2 separate regions of the Homo sapiens genome follow, and region 1 is linked to region 2. Evidence: promoter capture Hi-C in 16 types of primary human blood cells and fetal thymus (Javierre and others, 2016). All regions are on one chromosome and are shown on one strand. Each heading gives the region's core, a stretch centred on a gene start or on the middle of the fragment in contact. The rest is flanking DNA. Distances are from core to core; before and after follow the strand shown.

Region 1 (6,819 bases), core at 836-3,335, 64 kb before region 2:
GCAGTGAGCCGAGACCATGCCACTGCACTCCAGCCTGGCGACAGAGTGAGACTCCATCTCAAAAAAAAAAAAAAAAAAAAAAGGGCCGGGCGCGGTGGCTCATGCCTGTAATCCCAGCACTTTGGGAGGCCGAGGCGGACGGATCACAAGCTTAGGAGATCAAGACCATCCTGGCTAACAGGGTGAAACCCCATCTCTACTAAAAAATACAAAAAATTAGCCGGGCGTGGAGGCGGGTGCCTATAGTCCCAGCTACTTGGGAGGCTGAGGCAGGAGAATGGCGTGAACCCGGGAGGCAGAGCTTGCAGTGAGCCGAGATCGCGCCACTGCACACTCCAGCCTGGGCAATAGAGCGAGACTCCGTCTCAAAAAAAAAAAAAAAAAAAAAAGTCGGGAAGTGAACTGTGCAGCCTTCAGTCTGTGGCCAAAGGCCCAAGAGCCCCTGGCAAACCACTGGCGTAGGTCCAAGAGTCCAAAAGCTGAAGAACCTGGAGTCCAACGTTCAAGGGCAGGAAGCATCAAGCATGGGAGAAAGATGGAGGCCAGAAGACTTGGTCAGTCTAGCCCTTCCACGTTCCTCTCCTTTTATCCCAGCCACGCTGGCAGCTGATTAAATGATGCCCATCCAGATAGAGGTTGGGTCTGCCTCTGCTGGTTCACGGACTCAAATGTTAATCTCCTTTGGTAAGACCCTCACAGACACACCCAGGAACAATACTTCGCATCCTTCAATCAAGTTGATACTCAGTATTAACACACCAATTTAAAGTGTAGATTCAATGGTTTTTAGTATATTCACAGAGTTGTGCACTACAATCAGTTCTAGAACATTTTTATCACCCCCAAAAAAACTCTGCACCCGTTAGCAGTCACTACCCATTTCCCAACTTTCAGTGAGCTCCCCAGCCCAACGTAACCTCTTATCTACTTTCTGTCCATTGAATTACCTATTCTGGGCATTTCATATAAATGTAATCACACAATATGTGGTTTTGAAGACTAGCTTTGTTCACTTAGCCTCTTTTATCCTCTTTTCTCTTTTTTTTTGAGATGGAGTCCTGCTCTGTCACCCAGGCTGGAGTGCAGTGGCGCAATTTCAGCTCACCGCAACCTTGGCTGGCCTCCCGGGTTCAAGCAATTCTCCTGCCTCAGCCTCCCAAGTAGCTGAGATTATAGGCACCCGCCACCATGCTCGACTAATTTTTTTTTGTATTTTTAGTAGAATGTGGTTTCACCATGTTGGCCAGGCTGGTCTCGAACTCCTGGCCTCAGGTGATCCGCCCGCCTTGGCCTCCCAAGGTGCTGGGATTACACGCATGAGCCACCGCACCTGGCCTAGAGTATATGTTTTGTACTTCTTTGCTACGTGTGTTTCTAATTATTTTATTCTTTTTGACGGTATTGCAAATGAAATTATGTTCTTTTGTTCTTAGATTGTTCATTGCAAGTGTATAGAAATACAATTGATTCTTGTATTCTGCAACCTTGTTGAATTCTTCTATTAGTTCTAATAGATTTTTTAGTGAATTCCTTAGGATATTTTAGATATAAGGTCATCTGCAAATAGAGATGGTTTTGTTTTTCTCTCCAATCTGTATGCCTTTTACATTCATTCATTCATCTACATACAACATTCATCTTCTTGCCTAATTACACTGGCTAGAATGTCCGGTACAATGTCAAATAGAAATGGTAAGAGTAGGTATTCTTGTCTTATTCCTAATATTAGAGAGAGTAATCATTCATTTTTTACCAAAAAGTATGATATTAGTTGTGGGTTTTTTGTAGATGCTTGATGACTTTTATCAGGTTGATTAAGTCCCTTTATCTTCCTGGTTTATTAAATGTTTTTATCATGAAGAGATGTTGAATTTTGTCAAATGTCTTTTCTGTGTCTACTAAGATGACCATGTGGTTTTTGTCCTTTAGTCTATGGATAGGATGTACAACATTAATTTTATTTCTTATGTTAACTCAAGCTTTCATTCCTGGGATAAATCCCACTTGGTCGTGGTATATAATCCTTTTTATTTGTTGTTGAATTCATGGTAATTTGTGGAGAATTTCTGGGTCTATATTCATAAGAAATAGTCTACAGTTTTCTTGTATTGTGTTTGTCTGATTTTGGTATCTGAGTAGTATTACCTCATTGAATGGGCTTGGAAGAGCTTCATTTTCTTCTATTTTTGGAAAAGCTTGTGAAGAAATAGTATTGACATTTTCTTCATGGGAAGTTTCTGATTTATAATTCAATCTTTTCTAGGAGGCTGCTGAAGATGGCGGAGGGGCAGGTCCTAGTGCTCGATGGCCGAGGTCACCTCCTGGGCTGCCTGGCGGCCATCGTGGCTAAGCAGGTGCTGCTGGGCCGGAAGGTGGTGATCGTGCGCTGCGAGGGCATCGACATTTCTGGCAATTTCTACGGAAACAAGTTGAAGTACCTGGCTTTCCTCCGCAAGCGGATGAACACCAGCCCTTCCCGAGGCCCCACGTCTTCTGGCAGAGCTTGCGAGCCGGGCCGCCCCACGACAGCAGCCAGCCAGGCCGCCTAGGACCTGCCGCCAGGTGTTCGGTGGCGTCCCACCGCCCCGTGAGAGGAAAAAGCGGATGGTGCTTCCTGTTGCCCCCAAGGTTGTGCGTCTGAAGCCTACGAGAAAGTTCGCCTACCTGGGGTACCTGGCTCACGAGATTGGCTGAAAGTACCAGACCGTGACAGCCACCCTGGAGGAGAAGGGGAAGGAGAAAGCCAAGATCCAGGACCAGAAGAAACAACTCCTGAGGCTATGGAGACAGGCCGAAAAGAATGTGGAGAAGAAAATTGACAAATACAGGGAGGTCCTCAAGGCCCACGGACTCCTGGCCTGAGCCCGGTAAAGACTGTTTATTACTTATGCTTGGCCTGGCCTGCCCTTCCTCCATCGTGGCCCTGGAATGTGGGAGACCCAGGGGCAGCAGTCCAGGTGCCACAGGCAGCCTGGGACTTAGGAAGCTTGGGAGCAAGGAAAGGGTCTTAGTCACTGCCTTTCAATAAGGTTACTTAAAGCCCTCGAAGAATTGTGCAGGCATAATTCATCTGTGACCAATAGAGCAACAAATTACTTCAGTTTCAATATCAGCGAAAGGGAGCTGGAACACTAATTGGAGGGGCCCTACCTTGTGAGCAGGGCATCTGTTTAACTTCCCAACTAGTCATACACTATACTTTGCAGCTGTTAGAATGTGAACAAGCGCTTGGGGGACAGCATTAGCTTGCTGTTGTACGAAGGGTATTTATAAAAGCACAGACTGGGAAGATGTGTGATCAAGGAGTTACAGGCATTGCCCGTGCTTCTTGCCTGTATTTTGTGATCGGAATCAAATAAATTACTTTTATTCCTTTTTTTTTTTTTTTTTGAGACGGAGTCTCGCTCTGTCGCCCAGGCTGGAGTGCAGTGGCGCGATCTCGGCTTACTGCAAGCTCCGCCTCCTGGATTCACACCATTCTCCCGTCTCAGCCTCCGGAGTAGCTGGGACTGCAGGCACCCGCCACCATGCCCAGCTGATTTTTTGTATTTTCAGTAGAGACGGGGATTTCACCGTGTTAGCCAGGAAGGTCTCGATCTCCTGACCTCGTGATCTGCCCACCTCGGCCTCCCAAAGTGCTGGGATTACAGGCATGAGCCACGAAGCCCCGCCGATATTCTTTTTGATGATAGATACAAGTATTTCCTGAAATCAGTGGCCTCATAACTGGTATTTATTTCTCATTTCATTTTTCCCTTGATCAATTTGAAGTTATATAATTCTATGTCCAGACTTTTACTGGTTACCTACAACACAAACCTTTCATTTATCAAAATATGAAGTTAATCAATATTATTTGTATCAATAAGAGTTCATTCAGGAAAACAAAAGTAACACTAGATGCTTCAATACAAAATGCAGTGCAGGGAGTTGATTAAATAAGCGTTGGAGGAATGAAAAAGCAAAGGGAAACATTGAGGTAACATAGAGATAAAATCTGCAAGGAGCAGCTACCACCTTTGGAGCTGGGGAAACAAAGGGAAGAGGCTGGGGTTATCTAAACCAAAAGTTCAGATAAAGGACCTAACAGAGCTGAGGCTTAGGCCTCTGAGGATGGGGATGTTTCCTGATTGGTGCTGGATGTCTAAGAGGGCACAATGAGTCTGGTTCTGGGAGAGCTGAGAGAAGCTTGAGGCTGAACTAACTTCTGATGCTAGGCCAACACTGACAGGCATAGCAAGCAAAGAGGAAAATGAAAGTCACTTTTCTTTCAGTTTTCCAGTCTCCCTTAACACTCCTATTGATAGAAACTAAGAGGGAGCCAGTTGACAGGAAAGAAATGTGAATAAAACTGTCTTTGTTCACAGATGACATGATTGTCTATGTAGAAATTCCAAAAGAATTAACAAAAAATTTCTGAAACTAATAATGATTATAGCAAATTTGTAGGATACAGGTTAATATAAAAAAGTACATTGCTTTTCTTTATACCAGCAATGAGCAAGTGGAATTTGAAATTAAAAACACAATACTCCCCAAAAATAAACTACTTAGGTTTAAATGTAACAAAATATGTACAAGATCTATACGAGGAAAATTATAAACTCTGATGGAAGAAATCAAAGAACTAAATAAAAGGAGAGATATTCCGTGTTCATGGAAAGGAAGACTTGATATTGTCAAAATGTCAATTCTGCCCTATTTGACTGATACATTCAATGCAATCTCAATAAAAATCCTAGCAAGTTGTTTTGTGGATATCTACAAACTGATTCTAAAGTTACTATGGAGAGGCAAAAGATCTGAAGTAGCCAACACAATGATATAGGAGACCAAAGTTGGAAGACTGATAGTACCTAATTTCAAGACTTAGTATAAAGCTACAATAATCAAGACAGTGAGGTATTGGCAAAGTAATAGACAAATGGATCAATGGAACCCAGAAATAGACCCACATAAATGCAGTCAACTGATCTTTGACAAAGAAGAGGAGGGAAGCCAGTACAATGGAGAAAAGATAACCTTGTCAACAAATGGTACTCGAACAACTGGGCATCCACATGCCAAAAAAAAAAAAAAAAAAAAGAATCTAGACACAGACCTTACACCCTCAACAAAAATTATCTCAAAATGGATCATAGATCTAAATGTAAAATGCAAACTATAAAAGTCTTAACATATAACATAGGAGAAAATCTAGATGAACTTGGGTATGGCCATAACTTTTTAGATACAATGCCAAAAGCATGATCCATGAAAGAATTGATAAGCTGGATTTCATTAAAACTAAAAACTTGCTCTGTGAAAGACACTATAAAAAGAAATGAGAGGACAAGACACAGGCTAGGAGAAAGTATTTGCCACTTTGGGAGGCCAAGGTGGGAAGACCGCTTGAACACAGGTGTTCAAGACCAGCCTGGGCAACATAGCGAAACTCTGTCTCTAGACAAAATTTGGCTGGGCGTGGTGGCTCACGCCTGTAATCCCAGCACTTTGGAGGGCCGAGGCAGGCAGATCACAAGGTCAGGAGTTTGAGACCAGCCTGGCCAATATGGTGAAACCCCATCTCTAATAAAAATACAAAAAATTACCTGGGCATAGTGGCACGCGCCTGTAATCCCAGCTATTCGGGAGGCTGAGGCAGGAGAATCGCTTGAAACCGGGAGGCAGAGGTTGCAGTGAGCTGATTGCGCCACTGCATTCCACCCTGGTGACAGAGCGAGACTCCGTCTCAAAATAAATAAATAAATAAATAAATAAATAAATAAATAAATAAATAAAATCAGCCAGATGTGGTGGCATGCACCTGTAGTCCCAGCTATTCAGGAGGCTGAGGTGGGAGAATCACTTGAGCCCAGAGCTCAAGGCTACAGTAAGCCATGATTATGTCGCTGCACTCCAGCCTAGGTGACAGAGCAAGAATATATATATATATATTTGTATATATATATATTTATATATATATTTATATATATACACACACACACATATATATACACATATACACACACATGCATATACACATACATATATATATATATTTACAAAAGATGTTTCTGATAAAGGACTAGTTTCCAAAATATCAAAGAACTCTTAAAATTCAACAATAAATGTATTTAGTCAGGTTTTCCAGAGAAACAGAATCAATAGGAGGATATATAAGTAAATAGACAGGTAGGTAGAAAGGTAGATAGTCAGATATATAGAGAGATATTTATTATGAGGGATTGGCTTACACAATGATTAAGTCCCACAATCTGTCATCTGCAAGCTGGAGGCCAGGAAAGCCAGTGCTGTAGTTCTGATCCAAACCTAACACCTGTGAATCAGGGGGCTAATGGTGTTAAGTCTCAGTCTGAGTCCAGAGGCCTAAGAACTAAGGCCAGGTGCAGTGGCTCATGCCTATAATTTGGGAGGCCAAGGCAGTCATATCACTTGAGGTCAGGAGTTCGAGACCAGCCTAGCCAACATGGTGAAACCCCGTCTCTACTAAAAATACAAAAATTAGCCGGGTGTGTTGGCATGTGCCTATAATCCCAGCTACTTGGGAGGCTGAGGCAGGAGGATTGCTTGAACTTGGAAGGTTCGGTGTGCAGTGAGCCGTGATTGTGCCACTGCATTCCAGCCTGTATGACAGAGTGAGACCCTGTCTCCAAAAAAAAAAAAAAAAAAAAAAGGGCAAATAAACATATGTAAAGATGTTCCACATCATATGTCTCTAGGAAACTGCAAATTAAAACAAAAATGAGATACCACTACACACTTATTAGAATGGCCAAAATCTAGAACACTGAAAACGCCAAATGCTGTCAAGGATGT
Region 2 (6,903 bases), core at 2,130-4,629:
ACCTACCAGGCGCAGTTCAGGAATGGAGCGGCTCAAAGTCCATTCCTGGCTATTGATCACAGCCTCTGTAACGGGAGAAGGGCAGTAAGAGGGGAGGCTCCTGGCTCAGAAGGACCCCCAACACTGAGCCACCCCTCCTCCCTCTGCAGCTTTCCAACCCCCCCCCAACCCTGCCTGCACTGGAGAGGTGTGTGCAACAGACAGGTTTGAGGGTGGTCCCCAGGCCTCCCATCCCAGCCACTCTCCCCCAGCTGTTGCTGCCGCTCAGTGGTTGCTTAGCAACGGAGCTAGCAAGACAAAAATACTTCAGTTGGCATCTCCCTTAAAGCACATCCCCAAACGCGGGTCCTGGCCCCAGACAGGGAGACCAGGGCTCTGACAGTGGCAGGTTCTTCCCTCTGGAAAAAGAATAGAAGAGGAGCTCCTCCCTAACCCACTGGTTCCCAGGGCAGACCCTGGGAGGAGGTGCTGAAACACAGAAGAGAGTGTGTCTTCCCCAACCTCCATTCCACAGGAGAGAAACTGAGGTGAGGGGTTTCCCTCCCCTTCTTCAAGGTCAACGGCACTGTAGCCCTGGACCCCTCCCCACAGCCCAAGGGAAAGAGCTAGGATTTTCCTATGCCTCCATCTCCCACACCCTCCCCACAAACGCCCTCCAAAAGAACTGTGGGGAAGGGCTCCATCGCCTGGCCGAGAGAAGCCACAGGCCCGGGGGAAAGGATGCTCCTTCCGCCAGCCAGGTCCAGCCCCCGCGCCTGACACCGGCCGGACGTTCCCGGGGCGCCGCAGCTGCGGCGGGAACTCTGGGATCCGGAGCCATCTGCTCCCACCCGCTCCGGAGCCAAACCCCGGGGGCCGCCTCCGCTCCCGGACCCGCCTCCTCTCCCGGGAGTGTGAGCCGAACCAAGAGTCTCCTGCCTATCTCCTCCAGTAGGAAAATAGTAATAATAATAGACACCCTGCCCCCGTAAAAAACACTACCTTCCCCGTACCGCCTCCCAAGTCTCCCGGGGTACGGATTGCCTTTGCAGCAGTTCCGCCCCACCTGACTCACTCCAGGGTCAGCCCCGGGTGGGTTTCAATGCGGCTCTGGGGAGGGGGTGGGCAGTGGGGGAAGTGAGGCTTCCTATCCGCCCCCTCTCACTTCACATTTAAATATTCTGCACGTTCCAGCCCCCGCGGACTCGCGTACCGCCCAATCCGCCTTCACCGCACGAAAAACATCACTAGCCTGCTCTCAGCCCAGGGGACGACTAGTCCCTGGCGAGAAGCTGCCTGCAAGGTCACTGTCATGCCACCTGCCCCAAGTGCTCAGGGGAAACTGAGGCTTCCTCATCCCCTTCACCTTCAACGTCGCTCTAAACACGGCAAAGCCCCGTTTCCATGCTCCCAGAGTTCAGCTGAGGCTGGAAGTGGGGTCCTGGGCTTCTCTGGGAGCAATTTTCTAGTCACTCTGATCAAGGACGTTACTTTCCCAGAAAGCTCTGAGGCTGAGTCCCTCTGAAATCAAGTCCTTTCTCCTGTCGCACAATGTAGCTACTCGCCCCGCTTCAGGACTCCTATTCTTTGCCCCAATCCTTGACAGAGGGGTGAGCTTGGTTCATCCGCCCACCCCAGAGAAAAGCTTCCCTAGTTTCCTGGACCTCGCTCCTCCACCCCAAGCTGAGCATTCCAGGTACCCTTCCCTCCCTGTTCTCAAGCCCTGACTCAACTCACTAGGGGAAGCGCGGAGCTCGGCGCCCAGCAGCTCCCTGGACCCGCTGCCAGAAGACAGGCTGGGGGGTCCGGGAAGGGGCCCGGAGCCAGGAGGCCCTCCTGTGCTCTTGGTGAAGATGCCGCTGATAAACTTGAGCATCTTGCGGTCACGAGTGGATGCTCGGCCCCCCTCCCGGCCCCGTTTCAGCCCCGGAGCTGGAGGCTCCAGAGTGATTGGAGGTGCAGGCCCGGGGGGCTGCGCGGAAGCAGCGGTGACAGCAGTGGCTGGACTCGGAGTTGGTGGGAGGGTTAGCGGAGGAGGAGAGCCGGCAGGCGGTCCCGGATGCAAGTCACTGTTGTCCAAGGTCTTACTCTTGCCTTTCCGAGGGGACAACTTCCCTCGGGCTCCAGCCCCAGCCCCGACCCCACCAGAGGTCGAAGCTGTAGAGCCCCCTCCCCCGGCGGCGGCGGCGGTGGCGGCGGCAGAGACCGAAGCTCCAGTCCCGGCGCTGCTCTTTGACCCCTTGACCCTGGGCTTGCCCTCGCTTTCGGGCCATGACAGGCGGCTACCCGCGCCCTTGCCCCCGCCGGCTTTGGCTCCACTCGTGGTCACGGTCTTGCAAGGCTTGGGAGCCGGCGGAGGAGGCGCCACCTTGAGCCTCCGGCTGCCGGTGCCAGGGTGCGGAGAGGATGAGCCAGGGATGCCGCCGCCCGCCCGGCCTTCGGGCTCCGGGCCGCCCCAGCTCGGGCTGCTGAGCAGGGGGCGCCGGGAGGAGGTGGGGGCGCCCCCAGGCTTGGGGTCGGGGCTCAGTCCCCCGGAGAGCGGGGGTCCCGGAGGGACGGCCCAGAGGGAGAGGCGGCGGCCGGGAGCGGGGGAGACTGGGCGGGCCGGACTGGCCGGAGCCGGGGACAGGGCTGGGGGCTCCGCGCCCCCGGTGCCCGCGCTGCTCGTGCTGATCCACAGCGCATCCTGCCGGTGGAAGAGACGTTCGTGCCGCTTCTTGCCCGGCTCCTCCGCGCCTCGGGGGCTGCCAGGATCCCCAGTCTCGGAGCCTCTGGCACCGGCGGCGCCGGCCGCGGCCGCAGACGGAGAAGGCGGCGGCGGAGGCACCGACTCGAGCTTAACCAGGGTCAGCGAGATGAGGTAGGTCGTTGTCCGGCGCTGAAGCGCGCCCGCGCCCCGGCTCATGGGGCCCGGAGACCCCCGAGCTGGGGAGGGGAGGGGACTCCCCCGGACTGCCTCAGGGGGGCCCGGCCATGGGGCCGCCCTGCTCGCTGCCCCCAGCCCCCGGACCCCGCTGAGCCCCCGGCCCGGCTCCGCTGTCGCCGCCGCCTCCGCCGCCTCCGCTTGCGCCCCCCTCCCATCACATGGGGCGCCCCCTCCCCATGCTCCCCGCCCTGCGCCCCCACCCTCTTGGAGCCCCGGGACCTTGGTGCTGCTCCAGGGAGGCGCGCCGGACCGTCCACCCCGGCCTGGGTGGGGGCGCTGAGATGGGTGGGGGAGGGCGGGGAGGACAGTAGTGGGGGCAAATGGGGGAGAGAGAGGAAAAGGGAGCAGAAAAGGGGACCGGAGGCTAGGGGAAACGAACCTGTGCGGGGGAGGCAGGGGCGGGGAATTGGGACTCAAGGGACAGGGGCCGCGGATGCGGTCGGAAAGAGGGTCTAGAGGAGGGTGGGAAGCTAGTGGGGCTGGCCGTGCGGGGGATTCGCAGGGGCGCGGGGAGGATGCTGGGGATGGAGATACAGGAGGCGGCGGGGGAGGAAAGAGGGAACGGGAGGTGGGTGGGAACCCACGGGTCTGGGGTCTGGGAGGGGAGGGGCGTGAGATCCGGGCGAAGAGTCCGGGGGCCTCGCCTGGGCTCGGCTTGGTCCGGATGCGCGCTGTGTCCGGGCGCTCCCCTCACATTGAGGAGGAGGCGGCCCCCAGGCCCCCCCACCCTATCTCCCCCCCACCTTTTCTCCACCAGCACCGATGTCTGCGAGGGCGGTGCAAAATCCAGGGCTGGATTTCTCTCCCAAATCCTGGGCTGGATTTCCTGGGACTTGGACTCACCTCCTCCAACAACCTAGCCCCCTCCTCTCGCGCACCAAGGTTAGGAAGCGCGATTGTGAGGTATGGCATTTAGGGATAAGGGTGAAAATCGATCTATTGGGTGGACAGGGGCCGCGGTAAACAGAGCAAACCCAGGGTCACTGCCAATTCTGGGGAAGATGAAGTGGGAAAGTGGGGGCCCTGAAATCCCTTCCCCCAGGATCTCTTGTCTCCCCCAGGTACCTGGACGGTTCCCGTTCTCATGACCCAGCTCCCTTTCCCACTCACACCACCACATTTAATACTTTGACGGGGCCAAGACTTGAGCTCGACTGTCCCAAAGTGAACTTGGAAAATGTTCCCCAGGGATGGGGACAAACATGGAACTTAGCAGGGTAGGAGAGAAGGGAGAGATCTGAGTGCTGGAGGAGCCCAGGCCACAGGGTAAGTCAAAGGCTCCAGCTCTAGGAGGAGGGAGAAGGATGTGTCTTAGACTGATACCCCCCCATGCCAAAATGCATCCAGTCTCCATAGCAACCGTAGCTCCAAGAGTGCCTCAGAAACAGCGGGCAGAAGCAGAGAGGAATCCGTGTGTATGGTGGGTAGGGGACCAACCGCGGGATGCTGAATTAGTGGAGGCACTGCCCTGACACCTGGCTACCCACAGGTGGAGGATTTCACTCCCCAAGTATAAGGACCCTTCAGTTGAGGCAGTGAGAGCCGGCCTCTTCAGGGTTCCCTTTCAGTCTCCTGAGGTTTGCTGAGTGGGATTCTTTCAGAAGATTAAAGAGGAGGCAGGCAGAGTGAATGGAAACCGTCTGCTCCGTGTCCCCCACCCCTCTAGGGGTCTTGGAGTTCAAGGCTCTCTATCCTCCAGCCAGGTGAGAATCCTGAAGTGGTTAGGCCAAAGTGGAAAAGAGGTTGAGACCCCTTGGGGGTGGGGTAAGATGGGCGAAGGAAGGTCTCTCTGCAGCCTTGGAGACCCCTTCCCGGGACTTGGGGAGTCACAGCAGTCCCCTGATTTGGCGTCCCACCCTCCTGACGCAGCTGAGACTATAATAAGTGCTGCCGTGGGCGGCTCTTGGAGGCAGGAGCCCGCAGCGTGCTTGGCCTGGTGGGGGGCTGAGGGTGGGGGGGCTGAGCCAGGATGCCAGGAGCCCTTTGTTCTCCCAGAGGCCTGTATCCAATCCCTCCAATGTTCTGTCCTGGGGCTCAGCAGTTTCTCCCTCCCTCCCTACAGAACCAAGATGACACCATCCCCAGGACAGGAGACCCTTCAGTAGTGTTTTTTGATGGAGAGGGTGAAGGAGAATTGTTGGCTCTGGCTTAAACTTCCCTCCTTTGATGGCCTCGGTTTTCCTTTATGTTCAATGGGAACAGAATACTAATTCTTAGAGAAGGAGTAAAACAAATCACTTATGAGGAGTGAAGCCTTCTCAGGGATTTCCACCTCCACCCCTCCTCACCCTCCTCCCTCTCCAGAGCTAAGCACAGCTTTTCTGCCTGGCCTAAACCGCTCTTCTCCTTTATTATTATTATCATTATTATTTTTGAGAGGGGTGGGGCTTAGAGTTTCTCCCTAGGAGGCCCCATGGCCCACTCCCCCTTGGTCTGCCTTTCCAAACACTAAGGCTGTCAGGGGAAGCTTCAGGTGTAGTTCCTGGCAAAGGGTATGGGACAGGAGGTGAGAGGGGCACTAGCCTCCGAAGAACAATGGGAAGGGGATCATCAGACTGTCCCACTAGGCATCCAAAGCAAGCTGTTCCTTCCCCAAGTTATACTCTGGTGTACTAGCAGAGAGGTCTGGCAGGAGGTGTCCTTGAGGGAAAGAATGATCTCTTGACAACCACCCAGGTAGGCAGGTAACAATGGAGAAGACTGAAATGGCTGGAAGAGATCAGGATATGATGGAAGAAGTGTTTCCACCAGACACCTTTCATGAGCAAAGAAGGCTGCTTTTGTTAGCTCTTTGCTGCATCAGAGGTGAATGGAATGACAGCGAGCTGGAACAACCTCCAGTTCCACCAGTTCCTCAGTGGTAGGGCCTTGTGGATGGAGAGAAGCTGTTCCTGCCAGGGCTCCACCACAGGACTGAAGCCTGGGGTGGGCAGGAGGATGTGGCGGATGGTGTTGCCATGGCAGCATTTCCTCCCTGTGTTGTCATCACTTGCTCTAATGGCACTAAGGAGGTAGAGCGGAAGGTGTGTGGGGGGAAGACAGGAACAGGAGCAAGGGGAGGAGAGGGGACCAAGAAGAGTTCTGGGGACCTATCTGCACTTTGGCTCTGCAGAGCATAGTGTGTGAGAGTTAGTATGCGCTTGGGAGCCTGAGATTCTCTGCATGGTGTACTTCAATGTGCATGCGTGTGTGTGTGTGTGTATGTGTGTGCATGTGTTTCTCTCTACAGCTGGAGAACAAGAGGTCACTGATCCTTTGTGGGTCCTGGGAATGAACTCATTATCCAGTCCCAGAACCTGCTGCCCCAGACTGCTTCCTGCTCTGGACTCCCCAGGCAGGGAACAAGTCTACCATGAGTCTGTCACAGCCTATCTTCCCCATGCTCACACATTTCTTCATTGCCAAGAAGGTCAGCTCAACAGGGACCTGTATTTTGATCTCCTGGGAGAAGGATCAGAGCAGGGAAAGAGAAAGAATGATACCTCCCATGTCTTTTTCCATCCTCCCTAAATGTATTCTTTCCCAGAGTCCCATCTTGGGGACTAGGAAGTAGCTGACTGGGAATTGATATATGATACAGCTAAACCTTCTATGCACCTGCTAGTCCCTGATACACCCAAGTTGAGGGCTGACCTTTCTCTTACCTCGAATGCTGTCCAATGAGGCCTGGATGCTGTCCTGGAGTTCGGGGTCGTCCACCCTCTCTGCCAGCTTCCTGAGGCGGTTTAGAGCCTGCTTGGCCACCTCATGTCGTCTGACTTCTGCTCTCACTGCAGCTACAACGAACTGCCTCTGGGCATGCATGTTGCCCAGACCTGTCTTGCCAGGCTAACAACCACCTCTGGCCCTGAGGCCCATGGCCCTACAGCCCCCAAACCTCAGAAGGCCCCTTCTGCTGTGCCCAGAACTCCCCGCCCCTGCCCGCCCTTCCGTCTGTCGACCTCACTTCCTGACTGGTGAGTTTCAAACCCACAGCCTGGGACAGCACTACCTCCTGC

The links. Contacts are between HindIII fragments. The CHiCAGO score rates a contact against its expected background, and 5 or more counts as called.
Region 1: a fragment that was not itself captured here is called in contact with the fragment with the promoter of AGAP2 in region 2 in 2 of 17 cell types (M1 macrophages and erythroblasts); the score reaches 7.6 in M1 macrophages.

The regions. Positions count from the first base shown.
Region 1 is chr12:57,672,389-57,679,207 of GRCh38, forward strand. It overlaps the pseudogene RPL13AP23. Among named protein-coding and RNA genes, the nearest start is that of OS9, 18 kb to the right of the region's middle. The HindIII fragment of the contact is 216 bases long and covers 1,978-2,193 here.
Region 2 is chr12:57,735,363-57,742,265 of GRCh38, forward strand. AGAP2 (ArfGAP with GTPase domain, ankyrin repeat and PH domain 2) reads right to left here and starts at 3,380. Exons shown (of 19, transcript NM_001122772.3): 1 at 1,717-3,380; 2 at 7-65. The coding sequence starts at 2,884. RefSeq lists a silencer at 2,533-2,752 and enhancers at 5,926-6,005, 6,539-6,598. The HindIII fragment of the contact is 3,748 bases long and covers 1,623-5,370 here.